Regions from separate parts of the Homo sapiens genome. Here region 1 is linked to region 2. The links are contacts of gene promoters, found by promoter capture Hi-C in blood cells and fetal thymus (Javierre and others, 2016). All regions are on one chromosome and are shown on one strand. The core of a region is centred on a gene start or on the middle of the fragment in contact, and the rest is flanking DNA. Distances in the headings are between cores, read along the strand shown.

Region 1 (3,330 bases), core at 94-2,593, 270 kb after region 2:
TGATGTCAAGTCCAACAGAACTAGCTTCAAATCCTGGCTCTGACATTTATTAGCTGTGTTACCTCAGGCACATTTTTTCACTCTGACACATGGTTTCATTATGGAAAATGTTGATAAGAACCCTAATTGGCCAGGTGAGTGGTTCTCATCTGTAATCCCAGGGACTCAGAAGGCTGAAGCAGGAGAATCACTTGTGCCCAGGAGTTTGAGACCGGCCTGGGCAACATAGCAAGACCTGTCTCTACAATAATTTTTAAAAAAAGGCTGGGCGCGGTGGCTCACGCCTGTAATCCCAGCACTTTGGGAGGCTGAGATGGGCGGATCACCTGAGGTCAGGAGTTGGAGACCAGCCTGGCCAACATGGTGAAACCCCGTCTCTACTAAAAATTTAAAAATTAGCCAGGTGTGATGGTGCACGCCTGTAATTCCAGCTTTTTGTGAGGCTGAGACAGGAGAATTGCTTGAACCCAGAAGGTAGAGGTTGCAGTGAGCCGAGATCACACCACTTCACTCCAGCCTGGGTGACAGAGTAAGACTCTGTCTCAGAAAAAAACCCCAAAAAACAAAAAACTTAGCTGGACATGATGACATACACGTGTAGTCCCAGTTACTCGGGAGGCTGAGGTGGGAGGATGATTTGAGCCCAGGAGTTTGAGACCACATGAGCTATCATCACACCACTGCATTCCAGCTTGGGTGACAAAGACCCTGTCTCTAAAAAAGAAAAAAGAGAAAGAAAAAAAAAAACCTCATAGATTACTGTGGGGTTAAATGGGATCATGCATGCAAAGTGCTCAGCACAGCACCTGCCCCTGGCCAGTGCTCCATGGAAGTGAATGGTTATTGCCTTGGCAACAAGACCCTTTCCACCTTCACACGCTGCTTCCCAGGAGCTTCTCCTTCCATTCCACAAGGGTTCTTTCTCACTATGTGCCAAGAACCAATGTACTGGATGATGGTTCTGACTCCAAGTCTAGCCTCATCCTTCGCATCACAACTGCTTTGTTGTCGTTTTTGGTTAACATATTATCATCTGCCAGTAGCATACAGTATGATGACTTGACAAACTACAAAGCAAACCCAGAAATACGTGAAATCAAACCATACAGTCCAATTCTGAGACCCCCTCCAAAGAGCCCCCTCATGACTTTGGGGATTGCAGGAATACGTGCCACTCAGTGCTCAAACTGCCTGCATCCCTTCTTCAAGCCCTCTGCAATCTGCAAAAGTGAAGGGGGGGAAGCAGTATCCCTAAGCAGGGGCTGGGCATCCTCACAGCCTCCTCCCTGCCTGGCACTGGTATCCTCACCTATCTGCAGTGTGGTAACACGACCCTTTTCCCCCAGAGCCAGGTTGCCCGCAAGCCAGTAATGAAGTGTTTTTTACAACCCTGAAAGAAATACTTTAATAAAGCATGTGGTTGGATTATCGAACCCACAAGTATAAAAATATTGTGGTGCTCACACATGCAATGCATGCTGGTTAGTGACTGCCTCCAAAAATGTTTTACTTGCCATCACAGAGAAACGGGTGTATTGAAGATAAATGTTTTTAAAAGACCGACACGTAATGAAGTGAATCATAGTTCATTCACTCCTTCAACAAATACTGAACCCTACCACGGACCAGATGAGCAGCATGCTGGAGATGCAGTGGTAGGCAAGAAAGACAGAACTGCTGCCTTTGATGACCTCACCTTATAGAGGGGGATATAGACATGCATCAAATATAGAATTACAAGCTGTGGTAAGAGCTACAGAGGAGAAGGACACAGTGATCAGGGAGCAAACCACAGAGATCTGATCTGGTCTGCAGGTCAAAGGAGGCTGCCCAGAAAAGTAATGACTGAGCTGAGGGGGCACAGACTATGTAATAGAATGGGGGTCTAGGGGAGAAGCCTCAGCATAGGGGAGTGTCCAGGGATTATGCTAGGGTCACCTCGGGGTCTGGGATAACAGAACTCTCTATCAAAAACGTCTTTTATCCAGAGGCCCACTGGGTGTCTTGGGAAATGGCAGAGAGGATGCTGGGATTCAAGGTTGGGCTCTGGGGGCCAGGCGCAGTGGCTCACGCCTGTAATCCCAGCATTTTGGGAGGCCAAGGCGGGTGGATCACCTGAGGTCAGGAGTTCGAGACCAGCCTGGCCAACATGGTGAAACCCCGTCTCTACTGGAAATACAAAAATTAGCCAGGTGTGGTAGCACACCCCTGAAGTCCCAGCTACTTGTGAGGCTGAGGCAGGAGAATCACTTCAACCTGGGATGTGGAAGTTCCAGTGAGCCGAGATCACACCACTGCACTCCAGCCTGGGTGACAGAGCGAGACTCCGTCTCAAAAAAAAGGTTGGGATCCTAAATAAGAAAGGTAGAAAAATGCTGCCCCAAACTTCTGAGAGAAGCAAGCTGGGTGGGCAGGAACTCGTCCTAAGGTAGGAGAGCGCTGGGCCACATGAACACCATCTGGAAGAACTAGCTGGTGTCTCGTTCACAAGCCAGACTATTCAAGGTCTGGCCCAGACTCAAGAGAGCTGGGCTTGATGTCAGTGGAGAAACCATCCCTCCTCTCACATTAGCAGAGATGGCAGCTGCAGTTGAATGTCATGAGGGCCAGGGTAGTGGCCCTGTCTCTTTTTGGCAGCCAGAGGCCACAGCAGTAAGAAAAGGGCAGCTATACAGAGTGGTAGACATGGCAGAGGCAGGAGCAGCAAGGGCAGTTTCAGGTGAGAGTGAGTTGGCAGAGTCAGCCCAGTGGAGAGGAGGGGCCCATGGTGCTGAGGTCTCATCCAGTGACTTCAATGTGCTGGGGGCTTGTCTTAGAGATCATGGAATTGTTTTATGTCATTAACTGAGCTGCAGGTTGTCAGATTACGAAAACATGATGTTACAGCTTAGAAAATGTCCAGAATTGGGAGGTAACATGGCTCATAGTCCCTTGAAACAAGTGGCAGTCTCCTGGGGGACATTTTCAACAGCACTGAGTCAGAAGTGCAGTAACACCTGTGACATTCAGGATTTTTTTTTTTTTTTTTTTTTTTGAGACGGAGTCTCACTCTGTCGCCCAGGCTGGAGTGCAGTGGCACGATCTCAGCTCACTGCAAGCTCCGCCTCCCGGGTTCACGCCATTCTCCTGCCTCAGCCTCCCGAGTAGCTGGGACTACAGGCACCCACCACCACACCTGGCTAATTTTTTGTATTTTTAGTAGAGACAGGGTTTCACTGTGTTAGCCAGGATGGTCTCGATCTCCTGACCTCGTGATCCGTCCGCCTTGGCCTCCGAAAGTGCTGGGATTACAGGTATGAGCCATGGCGCCCGGCCGACATTCAGGATTTA
Region 2 (3,320 bases), core at 760-3,259:
CCGTGCGCGTGCCTGTGGCTGGCATTCTCTAGAGCTGCCTTCCTTCACCAGGGATTGCTCCGGGTAGCTGTGTTGGCAGACTGAGCCACGTCCTCATTTCTGCTAAGGATTTGCCTGGTCTTTTTCCTGAGTTATACTCTATCTCTACCTATCTCTTCCTATGTGGCCAGCCCCTGTATGCGCCTCCCCTTTGCTGGTGGCTCCAGGCCATGGTCTAGACAGCGCTGTCCATTAGAACTTTGTGCAGCGATGTTTACGTCCATTCTGCACTGACCAGTGTGGTAGCCATTAATCATGTGTGGCCACCGGGCATTTGGAATGTGGAATCTGGAATAACGGTGCAGCTGAGGAACTGAACTGTTAATTTTATTTATTTCAATTCAGTGTCATGCAGTGAGTGGCCACCAGATTAGACAGGGTCAGGCCTTCTCCCCTTTCTTCCTGGGCCTTCCCACTTTCCTCTTCTGCCTGGGTTGGACTGCCTTTACCCAAGCTTGTCCTGTGACCTCTCTCTGTTGACAGTGGCTTCCAAAGAGGCTGGCATGGGGCACTCATCTCTTCTGCTCAGTCTGTGTCCTCCCACTCCCTGATCTGACCCCGTGCCACCTTCTGGCTCTGCCAGCCTCTACCTGGTTCCTGTAGTGCCGCACAGAGCCTCCCTTTCCCGGCACAGCCTCCCTTTCCCGGCATAGCCAGCTTTCTTCAGGGTCCTGCCAGGAAGGGCCGCCCCCCCAACATTTCCAGATTGCCTCTGTCCCTCCACTCTGGGGTGCCTGGAAGGACTGTCCAGGACCCAGAGAGCAGGCAGAGCCCTGGATTCCTATCCTGGAATCCTCCCCCAGGATGAAGAAGCTCTGCCTGCCTGAACCCTCCAGCGATGGGCCTGGAGTCCTGTCCCTGTCCTTTCCTTAATCCCCAGCCTCTGGATCTTCCAGTCACCCCGGCTTTGCCCACCCTCACCCCATTTAGAAGCTGGGCTCGCTAGGAAACTGCTCCCTTAGCATCTGCAGAACTTCCTCAAGAAGTGAAATCCCCAGGTCCACTTTGAAGGAGAGGAAGGGATCACTGAGGTCTGGGGTAGGTGTCCTCTGGAAGCAGGGAGTGTCCACAAGGCCCTTCTCTGAGTGCTGGTGGAGGGCACTCGACAGAGAGAGCGCCGATGGCAGGGTGGCAGAGTAGGCTGCTGTGTAGGCAGGTGGGGGCTCCAGGATGTTGGGGCAGCTTGAGCTCTCTCGGTAGAGGCGTGGGGGCTTGGGTGGGGCCAGCAGGGTGGCCCGGGGCTGCTCGTCCCCCCACAGTGGCAGGCGCCGGCCATCTGGCCTCCCTTGTAGCTCCCGGATGACTTCTCGGTTGCTGTACTCCTCGTGGTCCCCACCTGCTGTGCTGGCCTGGCTAAGCACACTACTCTGTCGCCGGAGCCGCCGTGGCCGCCCCAGGCTCAGCTGCTTGAAGAAGGAGGCGTTGCGGAAGGAGCCTTTCCGCCAGGTCTCCATGGGGCCCAGGGGAGCCAGCAGACAGGTGTTCAGGAGCAGCCAGGGTGCATGTGGTCCCTGCTGGGGCAGTGAGTGCCAGCAGCTGGGGAGGCTCCCCTAGGAGCAGAGGCCTCAGGGTTTCCACTCAGCACAGACCTTTGACCACATCTTGGATGGTGAGAGGAGGGCTCAGGAAGAAGGAACTTTTTTGCCCAGGAGAGCAGACAGCTGGGAGTTCCTGGCAGCAAGAGTTTCCCACAGGGACAGGAGTGGCCTGGTTACTGAATAGGGTAGTGGAAAAAAACCCAGGAGGAAGAAGCAGCACTTACTGGAGCCAGAATGAGGGCAGCTCCGGCGGAGGCAGAGGTGGACCTTCTCGGGCTGGGTGAGGCTGGCGAGCGCTCCTTCCACAGGCAGGCAGCAGATGGCCCGAGCTCACTCGCCCTGGTGTTTGCCTGGCTCCTATATGTCTCTGGGGCAGTGTGGGGCCGTGCCCTCTCTGCCAGTGGCTCCCGGACTCTGATGAGTGGCCTGGCTGTTTGTGGCGGTGGAGATGTGTTTTTGTTCTCAGCTGACTCAGTCAGGTGGGAAGCCAGGTTTCGTGCTCTTGGGTAATTGCAGCATCCGCGTGCAGGGATGGGGCAGCTGGGACCAACACCCCAGGGCAATGGGGAGCTTAAGATTCCTCTGGGGACTCGTGTGGGGGCAGCCCTGCTTTATGTGTCACCACGCGGCTTCCTTTCTGATCACAGCCCCACCACCCTGGGCCCCCAGCAGGTGCGCCTGGCTCCCTGCCCACAGTGTCTGGGTAGGAAGAGTTCGGGGCGGGTGGGAGTTAATTGAAAGGCAGGCGTGTGGAACGATTGTTGGGGAAGGAAGAGACCTGTAGCTGGTATGGGTGACTCAGCCCCGCTGTCAGGCCCTCACGAGCAGGAACAGGAAGGGGGGCAGAGGGTGTGTTAATGGGGAGCAGCGCCATGCCTGTGATGGGCGGGCTCTGCTGCCCAGGGTTGGGCTGGGGGCCCGCCAAGGGTGGCTCCAAGTTTTCTTGGCAGAGCAGCATTAACCTGGGGATGGGAGATGTGGCCTCCTCTTGGCCTGCCATCAGCCTGGCTGCTATTTCCTTGTCCTCCCTTGTTTTACCCTAGAGGGCTCCTGCCAGGAGAGCGGCTGCTGAAGGCCGGGCCGTGTTGCCTCCTACCTGGCTGTGCTCCAGCCCTTCCCCTCTGGCTACCGGGCTTCCTCTGGGGTCCTCCTTCTCTTGCAGGAGGCTGGGCCAGGGAGGCTGCCGTGAATTGTCAGCCGTGCTCTGGGCCAGGCTTAGCAGTCCGGCCTAGCTGGGACTGCTGCAGCCGGGGAGAGGGGAGGGGTGCAGCCATCGGGAGGAACAGGGGAACCCAGGCTGAGTAACACTTCCTGTTTCTCTACACCCCTTACTCCAAACCTGCTGGCCAGGGCCTGGCATCTCAACCCTAGCTGCTCCCTTCCTATTCCCCGGGTCACTGACCACCACATTTTCCTCCTGCCTTGCTCTGTGACAGCGTCCCCATGCGGGGTACCGCGGATCAGGGCCCCACAGCTCTCTGCTACGGGCAGGCCACCGCATCTTGCAATCCCTGGCCTAGCTCACTTCTGTGCCAACTCAGGTGTGCTTCACACTTCTCTGAGAAGCTGTTGGGACCACATGATCATCACACAGCCTAAGCGGCACCGAGGGAGGAAAAGGTTTAATTCCCACCGCAGACCTTATCAGGGCGTGGGTTGGCAGCTTAGGTCCCGCTGTAGAGCTGCTTCTCCACCCTACAGCCTTGGCCCATTCAGATGGTTGTTTATTATTCTTTTGATTAT

The links. The method cuts DNA at HindIII sites, captures the fragments that hold promoters and counts their contacts. A CHiCAGO score of 5 or more calls a contact.
Region 1: a contact is called between a fragment that was not itself captured here and the fragment with the promoter of C15orf62 in region 2, in 1 of 17 cell types (naive B cells). The highest score is 7.4, in naive B cells.

What each region holds. Positions count from the first base shown.
Region 1 is chr15:40,496,880-40,500,209 of GRCh38, reverse strand. No RefSeq gene overlaps it. Among named protein-coding and RNA genes, the nearest start is that of CHST14, 28 kb to the right of the region's middle. The HindIII fragment of the contact is 5,436 bases long and covers 1-3,330 here.
Region 2 is chr15:40,768,669-40,771,988 of GRCh38, reverse strand. C15orf62 (chromosome 15 open reading frame 62) reads right to left here and starts at 2,009. Exons shown (of 1, transcript NM_001130448.3): 1 at 1-2,009. The coding sequence starts at 1,493. The coding sequence ends at 966. The region is part of intron 10 of DNAJC17 (DnaJ heat shock protein family (Hsp40) member C17); the gene reads left to right. RefSeq lists enhancers at 876-1,492, 1,450-1,539, 1,493-2,111, 2,730-3,320. The HindIII fragment of the contact is 5,370 bases long and covers 496-3,320 here.